Regions from separate parts of the Homo sapiens genome. Here region 2 is linked to region 1. Evidence: promoter capture Hi-C in human tissues and cell types (Jung and others, 2019). All regions are on one chromosome and are shown on one strand. The core of a region is centred on a gene start or on the middle of the fragment in contact, and the rest is flanking DNA. Distances in the headings are between cores, read along the strand shown.

Region 1 (3,610 bases), core at 909-3,408:
TCTCTCTTGGGGTAAGGAAGCTGCCCTTCCTACCACTGTTTTATAGCCTGAGGGAGTTCGTGTTAGGCCAAGACCTTATCATCTTTCAGAAAACAGATTTCAGTTTTGCCGTGGTTTTGAGGTCCTGAACCAAAATTTCACTGGCGGTTCTACCAAATCACAACCTCTGAGTCTCTCCTTTCATATGATTCCCATAACAGAATGTTTTGGTGGAAGTTCTATTAAGCAGTAAAACCACAGCCAATCAAGAAATCACTGGGAAAGATAAAGCGAAGTCTAGCTTTCCATTAACCAGGACAGTCAGCTTCTGTAAAATGGAGTGTCAACACTGCGCCTTCTGTCTTAGGCCAAGCATTTTCTCCTTCTTGGAACTCACCAGATCTTATTGTTCTTGAGCGTAATGGATTAACTTTCTATACTAGCCTTGAGGAATACATGATAGGAATTATATCAGTGACAGACTAATGTTTAGGCAGGAAAAAGTCATCATCGTGCAGAAATATCCTGGTATGTAAATGAGAACGTACAGAAAAGAGCAGACTAGACATACTCTAAATCAAAGGCCTGCCAAGAGTCAAGAGAATTCTGCGAACTGAGAAAGACTCCATGCCAGAAGCATGAGCCAGCGCTGCAGAGGTTATAATTTCTTTCTCTGCATCTTGTCCTCTGCATTATGCTCATATACGAGAAGGAAACTGAGATAGTGATTGGGCCATTTCTTTTCTTAATTTAATTTTTAAAAACTTGAGCCACAAGGTATCAATTCTGAGGACCTAATTAGTTTACTGGCAATAAAGTCCACATCCAGCCTAATCCTTAATATATAATCTGTAGCCCTTACCGGTCCCGCTGTTTCCTGGTGTTTCTCACCCAGGACAATCTCAAACCCAACACATAGCCGGGTGCAGAGGTATCTGGGCCAGTGTAGAAAGAAGACTTTGAGGTTAAGGCATGGTATTTAAGGTTCTGCTGCAAATGTTGTTTTAAACAAATCACCGTTCAACTACAACGGTATAATAATGCAAAAATAGCATCTGCCATGAAGAAAGTGCAGTGCTTTGAGAACTAGAAAAAGCAGTTAAATTTAAGGCCTTGCTTTACATTTCGGAGCCGCCATCGGGGCCAACTGGAGGTATGACTTTCCTGCACACAGGAGCAAGCTGAAAACTGCCCTGTGGCTTTATTCCACGTTCACCCCTGCAGCAAATGCCTTTTCTGTGAGGAACTACGGGCTGATGGGGAATCAGAGGTGGTTCTTCCTAAGTGGCGTTTCTGAGTGGGTTCCAGGAGTCCACAGTGACTTTAAGAGGCAGGCTACCTGGGGGACAGCCAGGCCGTGAGACGAGAAAGTTGTACAGTAACATTGCTGTGTGCCCATAAGTTTGTATCTTTTATTAGATTAGATAATATATCTCACATGCTGGGTTGTTAAGCAAATAAATATGTGTAAGGAAATTACAATCCACATAATTACATGAGTCGTTTTAACCACCACTCACCCCCAGAGTGATTAGATTTTCTTCTGCCTATGCCATTGCGGCCCAGTTGCTCTGTCACTGTCCATGGGGACAGGATCCCCTTACTCCGAAAAGCAAATCAGGAACAAACAGGGCAAGTGAGAGTCACTATCAGGGCCCAGAAACATGTGAGGAACAGCAGCTCAGAAGGGTCTCCAGACTGATGGGCCGGTGATCCTATATTCTTGTTGGGCTGACAACTCTTCTGGTTTCGGGCTCCAGGTGCTGGCAAGAAATCTCAGAGGTGGGGTGGGAGAGAGAGACGCGAGGCGACCCACGCAGACAAAGGGCTCCCACCCCACCCCCGGGCCACCCCGGCAGGCCGGGCAGGGGCCGAGCCTGGGGTCGCGCAGGGGGACCGAGAGGGCAGCGCGGGGCTGGGGGTGGGGAAGAGGCGGGAACCGAGCCGCAGGCCGCTGCGAGGAGTACTACCCCGCCACCCCCGCGCCGCGAGTTTCCGCGCACGTGGCCGTGGGGCCGGTCTCGCTCCCGCCCCCCGCCGGGCCCGCGCAGCCCCCTCCTCTGCGGCTCCCGGAGCGGCCAGAGCGCGCGGCGGCGGGCGGGGGCGGGCCGCAAGCAGGGCTCCCTGGCCGCTTTCCAGGTCGGCGCACTAATACGGGCGATGAGGCTTCGCGGCTCCAGTCTGACTGACGCCGGCTGGGGCCGCCGCCGCCGCCGCCGCCGCCGCCGCTGCTGCAGCCGCTGTCTCGGTCCCCGCCGCCGCCGCCGGGCCCTGCAGGCGCTGGGCGCGCGCAGCCAGGCAGTGAGTGCGCGGCGCTCGGAGCGGGCGGCCGGGGGACCACGGCGGGGGCGGGGTTGGGGGCGCCGGACCTGGGTGGGGGAGGGATGAGTGGCACGGCGGGGACAGGTAAGACGTGCCCTCCTCGGCCGCGCGCTGCTTGTGTGCGTGCGTGTGAGCGCATTGAGTGGAGGGCGAAGTTGTTCGTCCTCGGGGCAGCCTGGGAGGCTCCTCGGCGTGAGGCTTGGCTTTTGGCGGTCGTTGTTCCCGGGTTTTTTGGTGGAGCCTGTCTGGGGTGGAGTGGGGTGGGGTGGGGTGGGCGCGGGGCCGGAGGGGACTGCTCTGGGGAGTTGGCCGCGGCGCAGCTCGCCTTCCTCGCGCCTGCATCCGCCCGCGCCGCGGGCCCCGGGACCTGTCAGGGGATGTTCGACCCGCGGCGGGGGCGGCGGTCGGGTCGGGGCTGGGGCCCGGGGCGTGGGCAGGGACCAGGATAGGCGCCTGAGGGGTCGCTTGCTGTAGCTGGAGATAGGGGACAGCGGACAGAGGGGGCGGCGGGGGTCGTCATTGTGACTCTTTGGGGGCCACTTTTAAACTCGCCAGCGCCGAATTGGCCTCACTTGCCTTCTGTTTCGTAGGCTTTTTGCTTTGTTTACCTTTGAGGCATGCGAACTGAGAAAAAAAGTTAGGAATGTTGTTGAAGTGTCTCCGGGCTCGCGCTTGGACTGTGTCGGAGCCGGGGTGTTTGTCTTTTCCTTGGCCCGCCCCTCGGTGCCAGCTCTCCGCAGAGGGGAGGGGGCGAGGTGGGAAGCAGATACAGGAGACTGCCTGACGCCAGCTTTGTGATCGGAAGGAGGAGCGCTGGGAGAACATTTTTATGGATGGCTAATCGCTGACAAGTTTTCCCGTTACTATTCCTTCCTCCTCCTGCCCTTGACCGTGGACATTTGAAGTGATAGTTTGGAAATACTACGTTGACTTATTTCTGGGCTGGAGTGGGTACTCCTGAGAACTAACCTACAAAGGATACAAATCGAGTTTGGAGATAAAATTGTATGTAAATTCTTTACCCAGTAGTTTACAGTGAGAAACACACCCACAGGGCACTGTGGAGTGCTTTGGATGGATCCAGTTTACTAGTACCATTTCGGTGGCTTGCCAGATTTCTCGGATGATCTTTTGGAAATGTAGGTTAGCAAGAAGCATGGAGGCTGACCGTTAAGTCGTGAGGCATTTAATAATGCTGCCTCCTAAGCAGTAACTGAGCGGAACGTTTGTGGCACCCGTCTGGGAAAGTGAAATGTGACTACTACAAGCATGTCTCCTGCCTTAGCATTCCTCCAAGTGTGAGGGAATG
Region 2 (3,527 bases), core at 334-2,833, 460 kb after region 1:
ATAAGGTAATAAATGCTCAACACTCATAATTTTAATTATTTTTACTACATTTTAATATTATCTGTGTTCTTGAGGTTATTCTTATCTATTATATCCATAGGGTGGAAATACTGTATAATGACGTGCTACTCCACATCTCTCCACAGCATTCAATGATGTCACATTGAGAGCTTGAAATCAGCCATGGTGAGAATATTTATATCACAGAAGTTGATAACTGCTATGAATTTATTTATTGTTTTGTTGATTGATTAGACGAGAACATGGCAAACTGTAACACATAAAACAAATCTAGCCCATTGCCCATTTTTGTATGGCTTATGAGCTAAAGTGGCTTTTATATTTTTTAATTGTTGAAAAAAATTCAAAGAAGAATAATATTTTATGAAAACTATATGAAATTCAAATTTCAGTGTTCATAAATAAAGTTTTGTTGGAATACAGTCACGCTCATTGGTTTACATACTGTCTGTGGGTTGCTTGTGTGCTACAGAGGCAGAATTGTATAGACAGAGATAGTTGAGATAGAGACCATATGGCCTGTAGAGCCTAAAATATTTACTATCTGGCCCTTTACAGGAAAAGTTTTCCAGTTCCTTGTTTAAACTTAAGAAAGTGATGGATAAAATGTAAATAATGCAGATTAATCTTCTTAAATATGTTATGTCTCTGGCCATTGCATTGTGAATAGTGTTAAAAAATTGAGGAAATATTCTTCCAGCATTCCAGTCAATGACCAAAAAGTGATTTCCCACATACATCTTTGGTATTTTACTTAGTCTCATTCATTGCCTTAAATCAAAATATCCACTAACATTCATGTGAGAACTACATTTGTTTCTCAATGGCAACTGTAGATTGGCTATAGATTTTAAAATTTCAGCAAAAATTAGCAGAAGTGTTCTGTAAGAATCAATTAGCTATATGAATATTATATTTTTACTATTTATAAGTTGTATGCTACATATTCTTTACATTAGTACAATTCATAAGCATATGTACATGTACATAGGCATACTTTTTTTTCCCCCAGAGAGCCAGTTGTCAATTTTTGTTAGTTTTTTGTTTTTGATACGGAGTCTCACTCTGTCACCCAGGCTGGAGTGCAGTGGCATGATCTCGGCTCACTGCAACCTCCGCTTCCCAGGTTCAAGTGATTCTCATGCCTCGGCACGCTAGTACCTGGGATTACTCGAGCCTGCCACCATGCCCAGCTAATTTTTGTATTTTTTAGTAGAGATGGGGTTTTGCCATGTTGGCCAGGCTGGTCTCGAACTCCTGACCTCAGGTGATCTGCCTGCCTCAGCTGGGATTACAGGCATGAGCCACCACGCCCGGCCCAGTTGTTAAATATTTAGTAACATATTGCTGGCTCAGATCCTTTCCTCACCTTTTTGCATTCTTACCTCCCCTGGGAAATGGAAAAATCCCAGTTGATTCAGGGAGTTGGTGACCATTTCCTCTACAGCAGTATCATTCTGGTATTCTACAATGACAACAATTCAGGGACTGGATGACAACAAGTCTAGGGACTGAATGAGTTGAAAATGAAGATTAGACCAGGATCTCTCTGCGAGTCTTTTTCTTAAGATTAGGCTTAATAACAACCTATTATTCAATCTTAACAGAATTCCTGAACTGTGCCCGTGACTTCTCATGAGTTTTGGCTTGAATTATTTTCATCTGGGATTTCTTTTTTTCTTTTCTTATTCTCATTTCTCCAAATTGGCCTGGAATCTTGCCTGCTGGCACCTCTGAATCATAAAAATCTTTTGATAGTCCCCCAGGTGACTTACAAGCTTGGACATCACAGGTGACTTACAAGCTTGGACATCGTCTAAACCTGCCTAGTAGAATGCTTCTTCCTTGCTGCCCTTGCCTCAAAAAAGTTACACAAACTGAGACCCCAGGAGCCCTCGCCCAGATTAAACCCAGCCTCTGGGCAAACATTAAGTAAGAGACAACTGAAAGGATTACAAGCACTCCTTGTTCTCACTGAAAGTCTCTAACAACACAGACACAAGGGCATGCTGGAGGCCTCATTGCAGAACTTGGATGTTAATGCCTTAGTCATTCCTTCCTCCCTAAATTTGTTAAGGCTAAGATTATTGGGGTCACTCACAGAAAATGAACTAGCACAGCTAATTCAGCATTAATAATTAGGTGATGATATATTTATGTAAATACAAATGCATAAAAGCTTTGAATTGGTAGCATCGTAAGAGAAGAATATATTAACTGATTATTTTCTAAAGTGAAGGAAATGTATGCTGCTCATTTAGAAACTGTTCATTTCACCCAAATGTGCTTCTTGAGCAAAAATGTGTTTTAGGCACCAAATCAATGCTTTTATGTAATCATTTTAAAACTGGAGAGCCAGTTTAGATTACAACCATAATCAAAATTCATAGCGTGACGTTTTTTGAAACATTAGGTGTCTGAGAAAATTATCACACGACTTCACCATGGGACTGTGTTGCCAATTGATTTTAAAACTACACTGATGATCTCACAGTTAGCTTTGGGCCCATCATTGACTAACATGTCACATCCCACCTTCCATCAGCTAACTATGTTCTTGTCGAAAAAATGTGAAGTCAAATCTGCTTATGTTTTCTCAAACCAAGGAAAAACAGGGGGTGTAATGTTTTAAATTAAGCAAGGTTGTTATTCTTGTAGGTATAGAAGGACTTAAAAATAGTTTGTACCAACCCAGAGATCCCTTATTCATATTTCATGTATTAAGGTAGCTCTAACTATTATATTTCATCCTTTTGAAAGTTTCAGATTAAGCAATCTGTCTTTTCCTCCTCATGGATGACTTGCAAAAATAGTAAAACTTGTTTTTCCAACAGGTTGCCTAAAGTGACAAGATTCCTATTATGTAAGAAAAAAAATATATTGCTTATATTTAGTAAATTAATTGTTGCCCCAAAACACTCTCCTAAGGTTATAAAACTCCTCCTTAAAGCTGCTTATTAGAATGGAGATCCATTTTAGTAAAGTTACAAATTGTTCATGGCCAACAGTCACATCATTCAATGTGTTGTATAAATAGCAGTAGCTAATGTTTGGGAATAGAATATGATTATGACTTTTATGATATTATCACACAAATTTTGAATGGTTTATTTATATTAATAACACTGATTATTAAGTGAGAAGATGGGCTTGTATACTGAGGCTTGACTACATAGGATAAACATTTCTAATTCCAGGAATAAAATGAAGACATATGTACATGTATATCCATATATGTATCTATATCTTTCTATGCTTACACATATGCATTCATATCTATATAATCTGCAATGAGTTTGTTTTCCTCAAGCATAATTCAGTTTTACTGAATTAGACAAAACCCCCCGAAAAAGGTATTGTATCATCATCCAACTGATTAGAGTCTGAGTTTTACACTTTCCTTCAAGCACCTGACATTTTCTTCTTGTTCTGGCAGCCCCATTTTTAGTTCCTCCCTCCTGTTTGGCCAGAAATGAAACCTTGACAACATGCCACATTCCCCTGCA

What was found. Contacts are between HindIII fragments. The study calls those that stand out against the background at their distance.
Region 2: a contact is called between a fragment that was not itself captured here and the fragment with the promoter of SMAD9 in region 1, in 2 of the 25 tissues and cell types used here (dorsolateral prefrontal cortex and spleen).

What each region holds. Positions count from the first base shown.
Region 1 is chr13:36,918,786-36,922,395 of GRCh38, reverse strand. SMAD9 (SMAD family member 9) reads left to right here and starts at 2,158. Exons shown (of 7, transcript NM_001127217.3): 1 at 2,158-2,280. RefSeq lists silencers at 2,018-2,067, 2,178-2,247. The HindIII fragment of the contact is 20,741 bases long and covers 1-3,610 here.
Region 2 is chr13:36,455,207-36,458,733 of GRCh38, reverse strand. No RefSeq gene overlaps it. Among named protein-coding and RNA genes, the nearest start is that of CCNA1, 24 kb to the right of the region's middle. The HindIII fragment of the contact is 3,801 bases long and covers 1-3,483 here.